3 separate regions of the Homo sapiens genome follow, and regions 2 and 3 are each linked to region 1. The links are contacts of gene promoters, found by promoter capture Hi-C in blood cells and fetal thymus (Javierre and others, 2016). All regions are on one chromosome and are shown on one strand. The core of a region is centred on a gene start or on the middle of the fragment in contact, and the rest is flanking DNA. Distances in the headings are between cores, read along the strand shown. Region 1 holds the start of LINC03030 (long intergenic non-protein coding RNA 3030). Region 2 overlaps GDPD4 (glycerophosphodiester phosphodiesterase domain containing 4). Region 3 holds the start of GDPD4 (glycerophosphodiester phosphodiesterase domain containing 4).

Region 1 (2,577 bases), core at 47-2,546:
TTGGCCATATTGCTCCCTAGTCTGTACTCCTTTTGCATTGAGTTTTACAGGATCCACCCATTTCCAAAGTTACTTAGGTCAGCAATTTTCTCCCATTTCCTTCATTGAGTTTTGTTCATAATACAGTTAGATTATTTTGTCACGTTCTTTATTTCATCTTGGGATCATCTATCTGAGCTCCTAAATGATTTTTTTAAATTTGCATACTTTAGGTTCTAAGGGTTCTGACAAATGCAAGGTGTCATGTATCATGTCACTATCATTATGGTATTACACAAAATAATGTCACCATCCTAAAATGTCCTGTGATTTACCTATTCAATCCTCCTTACTGAATTCCTACCAACTTGTTTTTCATCTCTGTAGTTTTACCTTTCATAATGTATATAAGTAGAATCACGGCCAGGCACGGTGGCTCACACCTGCAATACTAGCACTTTCGGAGGCTGAGGCGGGTGGATCACGAGGTCAAGAGATCGAGACAATACTGGCTAACATGGTGAAACGCCGTCTCTGCTAAAAATACAAAAGTTAGCCAGGCATGGTGGCAGGCCCCTGTAGTCCCAGCTACTCGGGAGCCTGAGGCAGGAGAACCGCTCGAACCCAGGAGGTGGAGGTTGCAGTGAGCCGAGATCATGCCACTGCACTCCAGCCTGGCAACAGAGCCAGACTCCGTCTCAAAAAAAAAAAAAAAAAAAGAATTATATAGTAAAAAGCCATCAGACTTGCTTCTTTGACTTACTGATATACATTCAACATTTATCCATGTCTTTGCTTTGCTTGATAGCTCATTTCTTTAAAAAAAAAAAAAAAACTGTGGTAAAATAAACATAACAATTTCCATTTTAACCATTTTCTTTTCTTTTTTTTTTTTTTGAGGCGGAGTCTTCCTCTGTTGCCAGGCTGGAGTGTAGTGGCACAGTCTCGGCTCACTGCAACCTCCACCTCCCAGGTTCAAGCAATTCCCCTGCCTCAGCCCCCCAAGTAGCTGGGACTACAGGAGGGTGCCACCGCGCCTGGCTAACTTATGTATTTTTAGTAGAGACAGAGTTTCACCATGTTGGCCAGGCTGGTCTCAATCTCCTGACTTCGTGATCCACCCACCTTAGCCTCCCAAAGTGCTGAGATTGAGGCAGAAATTTAAAAATAAATATGCATTCATTCACTCCAAGAAAAGTAACAGGCAAGGCAAGGGTTAAAAAGAAAAGAACAAGTTTTCCTCGGCCTAGCAAGCTCACTTCAAGGACAGTTATAAGATAATGCTGTTTGAGAAGCCAAGGCCAAAGGAATGGGCTGCAGACATCCCTCCCCTCCAGAACAAGGTTGAAGGAAAAAAAAAAAGAGAAAGACAAATTCCTTTACTGTTACTTCTTTCCCTGGCTTCTTAAGCATGATTATGTTTTACAAATGTCTGTATTTAGCCAGTTCTTGATTTTCTTTTGACACAGCTCCAAGGCCACCAGCTATGCAAGGCCACAAGTTATGCACTATATGATTAACTGCTTTTGTTTTACTTTTGTAAGTCCACTTATAAAAACCCTGCTCTGTCTTTGTTTAATGCTCAGGTTTTTGGATATAAATCCACTCAGCCAGTGCGTACCTAAAAATAAATATCTTCCTGTACTCTCATATTGGTCTCGCCATTCCTCAGTTTCCTGCAACATTTCTTGGCAAGCCAGCCAGGAGTGGAGATGACAGGCTTACTGTCTCCTTTGCCTATAGGGGGCTGGAGCCCTGGGCCAAGGGAGACCTGTGACCCCAGGTGCCGCCGGGAGAACTTCAGCCCAGAGGGGAAATCAGCTCTCCGTGACCCAGCACCCCTACCCAGCAGCGCAACAGATCCTGAGAGGAGCTACAGGATGATTCTAGAAACAGCGCACTTCAGGAATCATGGTAAGGTTTTGGGGCCCAAGGCAGGACCCATCCTGTAAGGACGGAAAGGGAGCCTGATCACCTCCCGGGGTATGCCTAATAGTCCGACCCAGAGGGACTGGGGGCGATGAGAGCGGCTGTCAATTTGGATGAAACTCTCACCCCAATCAACACAGGAAGCAAGAGTGGCTCACTAAGTTGGTTAGGAAAAGGAAACTGGAGGTGGCGAGAATGGCTTGCCACCCCAACTAAGGAAACTGGAGATGGTGATAGTGGCTCGTCACCCCAATTAGGTACACAGGAACTGGGAGTCGGTCCATCAGAGTTATGACTGAGTGTGGCTCCCGAATGGTTAACTGCTGTCTTAGAGTCAATTTGCTAGCCTCTTGTGTTTAGCAAGGTGGTGGCGGCTAATGCCTTAACACAGGGAGGCCATCCTAGCATCACAGAATCCAATTGTTTGGATCAGTATGTTACTGGGTGATGTTATGACCTTACAACTTGAGTCAGAACTCCTATAGCCATTCCTTTTTGTTCATGAACATATAGAAAGGCTTAGTTATATCTGGTAGTCCTAAGGCTAGGGCCTAAGTTAAAGCTTCCTTGATTTGTTGGAATGCATTTTCTGATTAGTCTCCCAAAGGAGGGTTTTTTTGTCCTCCTTTTGTGGCTTCATATAACGGCACAGCCATCAAGGAAAGATTT
Region 2 (2,577 bases), core at 39-2,538, 310 kb before region 1:
TAAATCCTAATAAGACTTTTATCAGCCTTATATTATACATCAGATACAATAATAGGCTTTTCATCTAGAACACACCTTTGCCAAAATATTAACTATAGCTAACTAATTCAATATATACATCCTAATGGAGCACCTCTAGTTTTTATGTGTCTATATATGAGACATATTGCAGACGCTACATATACTCAGAAACCTAGAATATCAGAGTAATCACATTATTTTCATATATGGAAATAGCATGGATAGACTATGTACTCCTATGAGGACAAATATTCTGAGTAACTACAGTAATAACAAATCCACTTTCAGCTATTTCTTATATCAATACTAATTAATACAATGAATCTGAAGTGGAGTCTCAGTAGATGATACAGTTTGGATATGTGTCTCCTCCTAATCTTATGTTGAAATGTGACCTCCAATGTTGGAAGTGAGGCCTAGTGAGAGGCATTTGGGTCATGGGGGCAGATCCCTTATGAATGATTTGGTGGCCTCCCCTTAGTAATGAGTGAATTCTCATTCTATTAGTTCAAGCAAGAGCTGGTTGTTGAAAAGAGCCTGGTACCTCCTTCTCTCTTTCTTGCTCCCTCTCTCGCCATATGACATGCCTTGCTCCCCCTTCATCTTCTGCCATGAGTAAAAGCTTCCTCACCAGAAGCCGAGCAGATGCTGGTATCATGCTTGTAGAGCATGTAGAACCATGAGTCAAATAAACCTCTTTTCTTTTTAAATTACCCAGTCTCAGGTATTCCTTTATAGCAAAACAAAATGGACAAACACAGTAGGTAAGTCCATCTGTACATAATTCTTCACTTTTCCCTATTTTTACATGAAACATGATCAAACGGCCCTCAGGATTAACATCAAACATAAATAAAATTCCATTCCACCAGTACACAATCAAAAATCCCTTTTCTTTTCCTAATTACACTACTACCGTATAAGTGAGCTATTACCACAGCTGACCCTCACACCTTGCTATCTCTGCTGTCACATGTGCTAGCAATATGGATGCATGCTATCTATCTTGTTGAGATGTTTATTTTCAAAATCAAAGTCTCAAATGAGTATAGCTGATTGGTCAGAACCTAGGTCACATGAATTCCTAGTCATAAAATAAGCTAGAAAACGTAGGTTGTTTTGTTTTCTTTAATCTATCTTGAGAAAGTAGGCTTGACCTTTATCAAATGCAATTCTGACTTTTTACCCACTTAAAAACACTCAAGGATAATTCTAAACTCTTTAACTTGTTATGTAAGCATTGCCATAATCTCCGATCAACATGTTTTCCAGATTATTCTCCCAATCTATCGCTCATCTACTTCCTACCCCTCTTCCTTCCTCTCTTCTTTCCTCTATCCCTCCCTCCCTCTCCTACACACACACACACACACACACACACACACACACACACACACCCTGTTGCTCCAGGATAATCTCTGAAACACATCATCATTACTGCCCTTGCTTCCCCTTGGTAATGATCTTCCCTCAGCTCAAATGGTAGCTGTGCATAAAGTATTCCCCAACTTCTTCCAGAGGAACCATTCATACTTGCCTCAAAATTACACTGTACACTGCACAGCACGTGCTTTATACTGTACCACATCCATTATTAGTCTATACATCTCCTTCCAGAATCTCCCATCTACATTCCTCAGTCTGAGTTAGAAGTTGTTCTTGTGTGCTCCTGAAGCAACCTGAAATTAACTCGTTTTGCTCTTATCACAATGTACAGTAACTGTCTGTTTCTTATACTAGCCTGTGAATTCCATTAAGGCTGGATGTGTGTTTATTCACCATTATATTCCATGTGCCTTGTACCATTAGGTGCTCAATAAATATTTGTTGAATGGCAAGCAGAAAAAATCAAAAATATATGTCCTAGTCTGCCTCATCTAGGAAAATGTTATGTACATGTTAGCCATACTGTAAAAGCTTATGAAATATTTGGGTAAAAAGAAATTACAAGATAAGGGTAAGTTTACAAGTTTGTCTTCAGACTTTCTAGTGAATGTAGAAAGCAGCAATTAGACTCACTTCATTACTGAAAAAGCCCTCCTGCCAATACTATAGTCCTGCTACCAAACTGGGATGAAATCGTGTGGATACTTGCCTATCTTCATCTATGGCCTTTATTTTCAGGAGCAGCACATGATCTCTTACAAAAATTCAATGCAGGTTTGTGGAACTTGGGAATGTGTCTTACCTCTGGTTTTACAAACCATTTGCCTGCATTCAGAGTCGATAGGAAATCCCAGTTGAAGAAGGCAGGGTTCTCGCAGGCAGATTCTGGCTGAACTTCCCCAATATTGGTTGTTCTTTTCAGGTCAAAGTCATGCATGAGGAAAGGCACATGATCATAACTGAGGCAGAGGTAGAAAAGAAGGGCAGGGGTAGATAGGCTGAATTTAGCTACCTTGGTAGACAGGCTCCCCAGACAGTCCTTCAAGGTCACAAGTGTCACTAGGGCTCCTTACTCCCTCTCAAATCTTAGAAAAGGGCTACATATCAGTCATTTACACTTTGATGTCAATATTTTTCTGCTCTAGGGATCAATCTTTCATGATATATAAT
Region 3 (2,577 bases), core at 39-2,538, 270 kb before region 1:
AGAATTAAAAAGAAAATTTTATATTTGAGTGCTATTTCTTTTGCGGCACCGAAACTATAACAGTACCCAATCACCTAGTCTCTAAGGGAGAAATGGACAAATGCATAATCATGGTAGGAGATTTAACACACCTCTTAAAAAAAAAACAGAATAAGCAGAAAAAAAGTCTGTAAGGATATAGACGACTGTAAAAGTTGATTAACTAGTCTTAACATTTATAGAACACTGTACTCAACAAATGCAGAGTGTACTTTAAAATGGACATGGAATATTTATCAAAAATCACAATTGGTTTTAATAAACCTTGACATCTTAAGAATATATCTTCTGACTACAGTGCAATTTAACTGGAAATCAGTAAGAAAAACAAATTGCACATTTGGGAATTAAACACACAGAAACCTACGCATGGTCAAAGAAAAATCACAATGGAAATGAGAAAAAAACTTTCAGTTGGTTAATGATGAAACTACTGCATATATATAGAACTTGGTGTGACTAATTGCAAATACTGGGGTGTCCAAGGGCAGACGTTATGAACAAAAAGCTCTATGGGAGGATGGTAAGCTGCTTGGATATCGAATAAAAGGCAGCTTTTTAACCAGAATAATTACCACCACCATTGTCTACACACCTGCAGATACTTTGTGTCTAAGCACCAGCCAGCGTAGCCACGTTTACATGAAAATTCCTAATATTTAAGGGGAGATCGAGAAACACTGTTTCCTTCCCAGAGCTCTTCTCTGAATTCTACACTCATATATCCGACAGGCTACTGAAATCTCCATTTGGATTTCTCACAGGCACCTCAAAAGTAATATGTCCAAAACTGAACCCCTGATGTTTTTTCCCTCTAAAATCGATTCCTCCTGCAATCTGTCCCATCTCAGTAAAGGTCACCGCCATTCCCCAGCTCATGAGATCAAAACCCAAGGGTTGCCGCCCAGGATTGGCATAGTCGAAGCTGATTTTTATCCCCTTCGCCATTAACAACTAGAAAACTAGAAAATACACGAAGCCGCTACTGTCAGATACTGAACAGGAGGTCCAGGCCCGTAATCCTCGAGAGGGGACACAAACGACCCGACAGAGTGAGCGAACAACGTCAAAGGGCCTCAAGTTTGGCCGCCGACTAATAATACTAATAGAACTTCCTGCTTCTGGTGCTGCTTAGGGAGGAAGCACGGAACTGGGCACATTTACTTACCGAGACTTCCCAGTCCCAACCCAAATCCAATCTTCACGCCTGAGGAGACCAGCGTCTCTTAAGATGGACGCCTGGCTGGAAGGGCAGCCCGAGGGAGGCGGGGCGGGAGGGGGCGGCCTGGCGGGGCTGTGGGCGTGGTCAAGGACACCCCGTGCCAGAGCAAGGCTGAAGCTAAGGCCAGACCCCCAGCCTTGGCTCAGAGCCCCACCTTTTAAATGTCCGGTAAGGTATGCTCTCTTTGTTTTTGGTTTGGTTTGGTTCTTACAAAAAGAACTTGACTGTTTAAGTTTAGTCCTTGTTAATAACTTAGTTCAAGCATTACCAATTTTTTGTATCCCAGTTATTCATAAAATTGCCATATATATATATACATCTATCTATATATTTATATATTTTTTAAGAGACGGGGTCTTGTCGCCCAGTCTGGGCCTCAAACTTGGGCTCAAGCAGCCTCCTGCCTCAGCCTGAAGAGTAGCTGGGACTACAGCCCTGTGCCCCCCAGCCACCACGCCCAGGCTACCTCTTTATTTTATTTTATTTTTAACTATTTTTTCTGCCTTTTTAAAACAAATTTTTAATTTTTATGGGTACATAATAAGTGTATTATTTATACAACTCATAGTAGGAATACATGAGATATTCTGATAAAGGTATACAATGTGTAAGAATCACATCAGGAGGCCAGGCACAGTGGCTCACGCCTGTAATCCCAGCAGTTTGGGAGGCCGAGGCAGGTGGATCACCTGAGGTCAGGAGTTCGAGACCAGCCAGGCCAACATGATGAAACCCTGTCTCTACTAAAATACAAAAAAATTAGCCGGGCACAGTGGTGGATTCCTGTAATCCCAGCTACTCAGGAGGCTGAGGCAGGAGAATCACTTGAACCTGGGAGGCAGAGGTTGTAGTGAGCCGAGATAGCACCACTGCACTCCAACCTGGGCAACAAGAGTGAAACTCCATCTAAAAAAAAAAAAGAATCACATCAGGTACACTGAGTATCCATCACCTAAGCATTTATCATTTCTTTGGGTTATGAACGTTCCAGTTACACTCTTAGTTATTTTTAAAAATGTTCAATAAATAATTGCTGACTGTAGTCGCCTTGTTGTGCTGTCAAATATTAGATCCTATTTATTCTAACTATATATCTGTTGTACCCAGTAACCATCCCCACTTTGCCTTACCTTTTTTAAACCAGTTTCAACCACTCAAAGGGCCACAAATGGGCCTGTTTTCGCTTTTGTTTGTTTAATCTTTGATTCCTCTAGCCATTTCTCTGACTCTGACCTCGTTCCTGAGCTCTAGACCTTTATCTCCAACTGCCAGCCACTGGCCTTCAATCTGGCCGTCCTGCTGCAGACACCTCAAAC

The links. The method cuts DNA at HindIII sites, captures the fragments that hold promoters and counts their contacts. A CHiCAGO score of 5 or more calls a contact.
Region 2: a fragment that was not itself captured here is called in contact with the fragment with the promoter of LINC03030 in region 1 in 1 of 17 cell types (M2 macrophages); the score reaches 6.5 in M2 macrophages.
Region 3: the fragment with the promoter of GDPD4 here is called in contact with the fragment with the promoter of LINC03030 in region 1 in 4 of 17 cell types (neutrophils, M2 macrophages, M0 macrophages and 1 more); the score reaches 7.2 in neutrophils.

The regions. Positions count from the first base shown.
Region 1 is chr11:77,569,793-77,572,369 of GRCh38, forward strand. It overlaps LINC03030 (long intergenic non-protein coding RNA 3030), which reads left to right and starts at 1,297. Exons shown (of 3, transcript NR_130930.1): 1 at 1,297-1,518; 2 at 1,723-1,893. The HindIII fragment of the contact is 9,547 bases long and covers 1-2,468 here.
Region 2 is chr11:77,256,177-77,258,753 of GRCh38, forward strand. GDPD4 (glycerophosphodiester phosphodiesterase domain containing 4) reads right to left here. Exons shown (of 17, transcript NM_182833.3): 11 at 2,210-2,366. Among named protein-coding and RNA genes, the nearest start is that of GDPD4, 44 kb to the right of the region's middle. The HindIII fragment of the contact is 1,295 bases long and covers 642-1,936 here.
Region 3 is chr11:77,300,398-77,302,974 of GRCh38, forward strand. GDPD4 (glycerophosphodiester phosphodiesterase domain containing 4) reads right to left here and starts at 1,289. Exons shown (of 17, transcript NM_182833.3): 1 at 1,208-1,289. The HindIII fragment of the contact is 12,830 bases long and covers 1-2,577 here.